2 separate regions of the Homo sapiens genome follow, and region 2 is linked to region 1. Evidence: promoter capture Hi-C in 16 types of primary human blood cells and fetal thymus (Javierre and others, 2016). All regions are on one chromosome and are shown on one strand. The core of a region is centred on a gene start or on the middle of the fragment in contact, and the rest is flanking DNA. Distances in the headings are between cores, read along the strand shown.

Region 1 (3,910 bases), core at 459-2,958:
AAGGGGAGAGGAGAAACGAGAGGCTCCCAGGCTTGGGTGGGGAGGAGCCCCTCTGCAGATGCCCAATCCCCCTAATTTACGTATCGCACACCCCTGAATGGCGCCTATGGTTCTTTTTCTCCTTCATCATCATCATCTTCTTTTTCTTTTTTTACTACGCTTTGCAACCTACCTTGGTACCCTCAACCCTTCTACCCCCACCTTCCCTCTGCAGTGCAAGGCTTGAAAAACAGGCCATCCCACCAATCAGCAGGCCTCCCCGGGAAACTCGCTCCGCCCCTCAGCCGCATTGGGCCGAGGCGCGCTCCCCCGCGGCCCGCCGGGTCCCAGCCACTGAGCATGCCCAGCGCCTCGACTGCTGAGTGCCCAGCCAGCATCCTGCAGTGCCTGGGAGCCTGAGGCCGAGGAGGGTCCCGGCGTAGTAAAGGGGCGGCAACCCCAAACGGGCCAGGCATCAAAATGAGACAGCATTAAACCGAGTGACATCTCTGTGGGTCCTTAGTGCCAGGCGAGCAAGCAGGGACAAACTGCTTGTTTATAGGTCGGCTTAAAAAATAAAAAAACTCTGGGGAGCGTTTGTTTGTGGGGAGACTGATACCGCAAGGTGACCCTGAAAGGGGCGCTTCAAGTAGACCCAGGCTGCTGATCTGGTCCACTCATGAAGTAACCATTTTCCTGTACAGTTGAGCTGGCACCATCCTTGTTTTCTCCCTGTTATCCTTGTGGTCAAGGTTAAAAACTTATAGGGTGGTTCAATGGGTGTGGGAGCTGTGTGTGAAACAAACATTTCAGCCAATATTTGCACAGTAGGGTTTTGGCCTTATGAACCCTCTGAAGGTCCCTAACAGCTTTTTAAAGTCACGGATAGACTTCGGAATATGATAAGGGACCTCTCATTTCCCCTCCCCCATGCCCTCAGCCTTAGGTGTGAGTCCCCCCGTCACACGGATGGGCAAGGGGAGCAGGAGAAAAGGTGATATTTACATTTTCTCCCTACTTGATCAGCAACTAATTCCACAGCGCCGGACGTGAGACACTTCCTGGGGATCCCTGTTCTCCTTTTGTAGTGACCATAACTGCCCCCAGTCACTGCCCTTGGGCGTCCCTCTGTTCCTTCCAGGTACCTCACGGCAGCAAATCTGGGGATCCCAAGGTGGAAGGCTGGCCCAGAAGTCCTTTAGAAAAACCTTAAAAAATACAGATCCCCTCACCATGGCCTATCGCCCTGAAGCCGAAATCTAGCTTTTAAATTTCCTGGGGGAAACAGCCTTGACTAGAAACCTCCCTCCCGTGGGTCAGTCTTACCTGATAGGTAAGAGGCAGCCCAGCTCCGGCGCCCCCGCCTCCCCCCGGCCTCCCACTCGGGGCTCTGTAGCCGCAGTGCCCCCCCGTGGCCCCCCACCCTCACTCCTGCGTCTTCCCGAGCTCGCCCCCTCCCGTTTTCCCAGACTCCCCTCGTGCTTTCGGGTAGCCACCCAAACACCCCCGCCTGCGCCCGCCGCGGGGATTCCTGCGGGCCGGGGGCGCCCCGGTTGGCGCGCGTGTAGGGAGGCGCTGCGCCGGAGCTGGCGGCCGCGCAGGGGCGCTGTCCTAGCGCTGCGCCGGGGTCGGCGCGGGCGCCGCTGCAGCACGGCTGGGGGGCGGAGAGGGGCGGGCGCGGGGCGGGCTCGGCCCGGAATGTAGAGACCCGGGCGGGAGCCTCCCGGCGGCGGCTGCCCGGCTGCCGAGCGCGGAGGCTCCGTCACGTGTTTTTCTCCTCCGAGTGAGACGGCGGCGCGGTCGGAGGGGGCCGGCGCGCAGAGCCAGACGCCGCCGCTTGTTTTGGTTGGGGCTCTCGGCAACTCTCCGAGGAGGAGGAGGAGGAGGGAGGAGGGGAGAAGTAACTGCAGCGGCAGCGCCTCCCGAGGAACAGGCGTCTTCCCCGAACCCTTCCCAAACCTCCCCCATCCCCTCTCGCCCTTGTCCCCTCCCCTCCTCCCCAGCCGCCTGGAGCGAGGGGCAGGGATGAGTCTGTCCCTCCGGCCGGTCCCCAGCTGCAGTGGCTGCCCGGTATCGTTTCGCATGGAAAAGCCACTTTCTCCACCCGCCGAGATGGGCCCGGATGGGGGCTGCAGAGGACGCGCCCGCGGGCGGCGGCAGCAGCAGCAGCAGCAGCAGCAGCAACAGCAACAGCCGCAGCGCCGCGGTCTCTGCGACTGAGCTGGTATTTGGGCGGCTGGTGGCGGCTGGGACGGTTGGGGGGTGGGAGGAGGCGAAGGAGGAGGGAGAACCCCGTGCAACGTTGGGACTTGGCAACCCGCCTCCCCCTGCCCAAGGATATTTAATTTGCCTCGGGAATCGCTGCTTCCAGAGGGGAACTCAGGAGGGAAGGCGCGCGCGCGCGCGCGCTCCTGGAGGGGCACCGCAGGGACCCCCGACTGTCGCCTCCCTGTGCCGGACTCCAGCCGGGGCGACGAGAGATGCATCTTCGCTCCTTCCTGGTGGCGGCGGCGGCTGAGAGGAGACTTGGCTCTCGGAGGATCGGGGCTGCCCTCACCCCGGACGCACTGCCTCCCCGCCGGGCGTGAAGCGCCCGAAAACTCCGGTCGGGCTCTCTCCTGGGCTCAGCAGCTGCGTCCTCCTTCAGCTGCCCCTCCCCGGCGCGGGGGGCGGCGTGGATTTCAGAGTCGGGGTTTCTGCTGCCTCCAGCCCTGTTTGCATGTGCCGGGCCGCGGCGAGGAGCCTCCGCCCCCCACCCGGTTGTTTTTCGGAGCCTCCCTCTGCTCAGCGTTGGTGGTGGCGGTGGCAGCATGGCGAGCCCTCCGGAGAGCGATGGCTTCTCGGACGTGCGCAAGGTGGGCTACCTGCGCAAACCCAAGAGCATGCACAAACGCTTCTTCGTACTGCGCGCGGCCAGCGAGGCTGGGGGCCCGGCGCGCCTCGAGTACTACGAGAACGAGAAGAAGTGGCGGCACAAGTCGAGCGCCCCCAAACGCTCGATCCCCCTTGAGAGCTGCTTCAACATCAACAAGCGGGCTGACTCCAAGAACAAGCACCTGGTGGCTCTCTACACCCGGGACGAGCACTTTGCCATCGCGGCGGACAGCGAGGCCGAGCAAGACAGCTGGTACCAGGCTCTCCTACAGCTGCACAACCGTGCTAAGGGCCACCACGACGGAGCTGCGGCCCTCGGGGCGGGAGGTGGTGGGGGCAGCTGCAGCGGCAGCTCCGGCCTTGGTGAGGCTGGGGAGGACTTGAGCTACGGTGACGTGCCCCCAGGACCCGCATTCAAAGAGGTCTGGCAAGTGATCCTGAAGCCCAAGGGCCTGGGTCAGACAAAGAACCTGATTGGTATCTACCGCCTTTGCCTGACCAGCAAGACCATCAGCTTCGTGAAGCTGAACTCGGAGGCAGCGGCCGTGGTGCTGCAGCTGATGAACATCAGGCGCTGTGGCCACTCGGAAAACTTCTTCTTCATCGAGGTGGGCCGTTCTGCCGTGACGGGGCCCGGGGAGTTCTGGATGCAGGTGGATGACTCTGTGGTGGCCCAGAACATGCACGAGACCATCCTGGAGGCCATGCGGGCCATGAGTGATGAGTTCCGCCCTCGCAGCAAGAGCCAGTCCTCGTCCAACTGCTCTAACCCCATCAGCGTCCCCCTGCGCCGGCACCATCTCAACAATCCCCCGCCCAGCCAGGTGGGGCTGACCCGCCGATCACGCACTGAGAGCATCACCGCCACCTCCCCGGCCAGCATGGTGGGCGGGAAGCCAGGCTCCTTCCGTGTCCGCGCCTCCAGTGACGGCGAAGGCACCATGTCCCGCCCAGCCTCGGTGGACGGCAGCCCTGTGAGTCCCAGCACCAACAGAACCCACGCCCACCGGCATCGGGGCAGCGCCCGGCTGCACCCCCCGCTCAACCACAGCCGCTC
Region 2 (3,910 bases), core at 399-2,898, 490 kb after region 1:
GAGCTGAAAGACAACCTTTGGCTTATCTTGTTTGCATTGAATCTTTACTCTAATGGTCAGGGAACATTCCTCCTTCCAAGCAGCTGAGTATATTTCATGCAAATTGCACTTCTGGTACTTTTCACTGACAGTCAAGAGCTTCTGAGATCCTTCTCTGTTCTTCTGTACAGGTGTCTTTTTTTTTTTTTAACCCCAGGTTCATTGCCTACATTGATATTTTAATAATGTTACAGATAATGATAAACACATACTTAAATTAGATATACACATATGATTGTATGGGAGGGCTCTGTAGGCCAACATAAGGACAGTAACCATTCAGTAGATTCCCCATCTTTAGGTTTATCAAGAGATTTGAAGTTGCTATCTGGGGGACTTACTCATATTGTCTTTGACAATCTCTTTCTAGACTGTTTCTACAGTCTAACATCCTACAGTTTTGTTCCCTTACTATCTATACTTTATTACTCCCTATATTCAATTGTAGTAGGCACTTTTTTTTTTTTTTTTTTTTTTTGCCTTTACTCATGCTGCTCCCACCCTGGGATTCCTGTCCTGGGTTTTTCACTTATTAGTGTCTTCAGGAGATATGAGAAAGCACTCCCCATGTCTCAATCAGAAGTCATTACTTCCTTCTTTGTACTCCCAGTGCACATTGCTGACATTGCTGAGAGGTCATTGGTCCCATCATTTACTGCTATTTCTGTTGGGTGTATACGAATATTTATAATATATATGTGTATGTATGTTCGATATTATATATTTGTATTATGTATTTATGTAATATTATCACAGATTCACACAGGGTGTTAAAAATAGGAGATTCTCAATAACTACTAAACCAATGGATATTTTGTGTGAGTAACTGAACACATGATTTTCTTGTAAACCAATTTGATTTTATTCTTTTAATGATTAACTTTAAAATGAACAGAGGTAACTATTTTGAACAACTAACTGCTGTTGACCATGATTCTGATGAAAGTAACCTATGTCTTCTAGAAGTTTAGATTCATTCTGAATTGCCTAAACACATTTTTAACAAGAGTGTCCAATCTGGACCTACATAGTACACAAGTAAAAGGAAAATAGCACAGGCTCTCGGCGATAAAGCTTCAAGGTGAATTTATGAGTGTTCAGGGGAAGTTTTCTCCTTCACTTCCAAATGTACTGTCCCAATTTGACCAAATATTTGCATAGTATGTTGTACAAATATATAAAGTACCCTTTCATTTTGTACTTTCAATGCTTGTGTCACATAGCACCATAATATGAAAAAGAGGACAAGTGAATCCCTGAACAGAAACAAAAATGTTTTTATGTCACCAAGAACTATGTCCTTCCTCTTTAATAACAAAAAAAAGGAAACACACACACACACACACACACACACACACACACCCCAAAAAGAGATCAGGAAGACTCCATCTATGATGGTGTAATTTTTGTGCTGACGTGTTGGGCAAAAAGAAAATCACTGTCAGCCTCCTGACTTTCACCTGCTAAACACACAACCACAGGCGCTAAGAAACCTAGGAAAGCACTTTCATCAGCAAAAGTTTGTCTCCCCCAGCTACTTGGTAACTTCCTGAGTCCTCTGTGCCTCTGTCAGTTGCTCCAGGAGACCCAGGGCAAGGTAGATAAAAGTCATTAATTAGGAAAAGTAATGGAGAAATCATCCACAATGAGCATCTAGTGAATTGTTTTCATCACAATCTGAACTGCAAAGAGATCAGAGTACAGGACAGTGACACGCCATTGTGGAATCCAAGTGGGCTCAGGTGTGTTAGATGTTAGTTTGTGAAAAAATATTTGCTTATCAGCAATGTCAGAATAAAGAGGTATAAATATTTATTTGAAGTTTAAAATCCACATTTCAATTATTTATCCTACTTGAGTCTCAGTTATCCTAATCTAGAAAATGGGATAATAATAACTACACTATAGAGTTATTATGATAATTAAATAAGATAATATATGAAATGCTTGGCATGGCACTTTGGGTATCATGAATTCTCAGCCATGTCAGTTCTCCTAATAACAATAGTAATATTTATTCAGAACTTATTAGTGCAGTTGCGATTTTAAGGAATTCATATGGATTAGCTCATTTTGTCCTCTTAATAAACTCTATCAGGCCCTCCAAATGTTAAATATAACACAAAAAGTTTAGTTAAAGCTTTACCAGATGATTACTAATATAGTATATATAAAGCCATCGTTTTAGCATTTAGTATTCAGAGATTAGTTCATAGGGTCAAAAATTCTACTAATGTAGTTAGTATATATTATATCCACTATTAGAAATATGATAGCATAATGATTTCTTCACAATTGCTTTACAGTGCTAAAATCTCTTACATATGTGTCTTATTTGATCTTTAGAATAGTCCTACTAAATAGATAAAGTAGTTATTATCTTCCTTTCTTTTTTTTTTTTTTTTTTTTTTTTTGAGACAGACTCTGTCACCCAGGCTGGAGTTTAATGGTGCAATCTCTGCTCACTACAACCTCCACCTCCCAGGTTCAAGCACTTCTCCTGCCTCAGCCTCAAGAGTAGCTGGGATTACAGGCACCCGCCACCACACCCGACTAATTTTTGTATTTCTAGCAAAGACAGGGTTTCACCATGTTCGCTAGGCTGGTCTCGAACTCCTGACCTCAGGTGATCTGCCTGCCTTGGCCTCCCAAAGTGTTGAGATTACAGGCGTGAGCCACTGTACCCGGCTTTTCTTTATATTTAAAGCAACTGAAACAGAGAAATATTAAGCAACCTACACTGGTACATACCAAACCTGAAGAGCCAGGTCTCTGAATTCTCATTTAATGTTTTAAGTCTTGTATGAGTCTACATCATATAGCACCTCACACCACTCATTCAATAACTAGTTTATTGTGCATTATTTTTAAGTATATATCCTTCCCCAAGCCGTATAATGAGCACATTTAGGGTACTCTAGGATATCTTATGATCATTGAGATTTACAATTGGATGGGACATCAAATCCAGTGAAACAACTTCAGAGACTGCTCCTCTCTGCTCCCAAGATCCACATTCCCCTCCTGAATGCACAATTAGACCACTTTTCCCAAGTTAGGTGTGGTCATGGGCATGAGTTCTAGCCAATGGGATGTGAGCAGAATTGTCTTGTGCCACGTACAATTCTTTCTACTCCTCCACTAACTCGGAGAAGAGAAAAGGGAACATGTTGAAACTAGAAATATTTCATATATGTACATAAACACACATTCTTATGGATGTTGACTAGTAATCTTATTTATGTACATATGTGTGTATTTGTGTGTGGAGTGTATGTGTGTGTGTATCCTTCCTTAGAATATGTACAACAGATGAAGCTACAAAGCACTTATAAAGATGAGAGAGACTTTGGAACTTGTTTTTCCCCTCTTCTTTCTTGTTACACATAAACAAAGTTAAGTGAATTAAGAGACTTACCCCTGGGCACCTGGACAGGGACTAGCAGATGTGAAATTAAAGCTCAGGTTTCTTTGCTCTCAACCAAAAAATATCACAAAATATCCAGTGAAACACTATTTGTGCCGGATGATCACAGTTTTTATGAGACAAAGGGTTTCCTGGTCACGTGCATTTGGAAAATTCTGGGTTATACAAAGCATAATAAGTTCATTTGCTGCAGGATTTCTCAGGACCTTAATTTAATTTACCAGTGAGTTCTGTGAGTCTTCATGAGGGCAGCACTGAGTTTTCAGAATGTTCCCAAGTGATTTGTTACTAGGAAGCAGGGTTCCACATTGCACCAGGTTCAGCTTTTCCCCTCATTTGTACACAACCTCTCTGTGTGTTGAGAATAGAACGTGAAATTTCTGTTCACGTCTCTGTCAACAATAACAACTTGACCGTAAGCTAGTTCTAGTTACTTCTTTGGGC

What was found. Contacts are between HindIII fragments. The CHiCAGO score rates a contact against its expected background, and 5 or more counts as called.
Region 2: a fragment that was not itself captured here is called in contact with the fragment with the promoter of IRS1 in region 1 in 2 of 17 cell types (total B cells and M0 macrophages); the score reaches 6.1 in total B cells.

Annotation. Positions count from the first base shown.
Region 1 is chr2:226,797,618-226,801,527 of GRCh38, reverse strand. It overlaps IRS1 (insulin receptor substrate 1), which reads left to right and starts at 1,708. Exons shown (of 2, transcript NM_005544.3): 1 at 1,708-3,910. The coding sequence starts at 2,790. It also overlaps a transcript of RHBDD1 not described here. RefSeq lists silencers at 170-379, 1,340-1,409, 1,430-1,849, 2,840-2,889 and an enhancer at 3,620-3,910. The HindIII fragment of the contact is 8,747 bases long and covers 1-3,910 here.
Region 2 is chr2:226,305,172-226,309,081 of GRCh38, reverse strand. No RefSeq gene overlaps it. Among named protein-coding and RNA genes, the nearest start is that of MIR5702, 350 kb to the left of the region's middle. The HindIII fragment of the contact is 1,066 bases long and covers 1,116-2,181 here.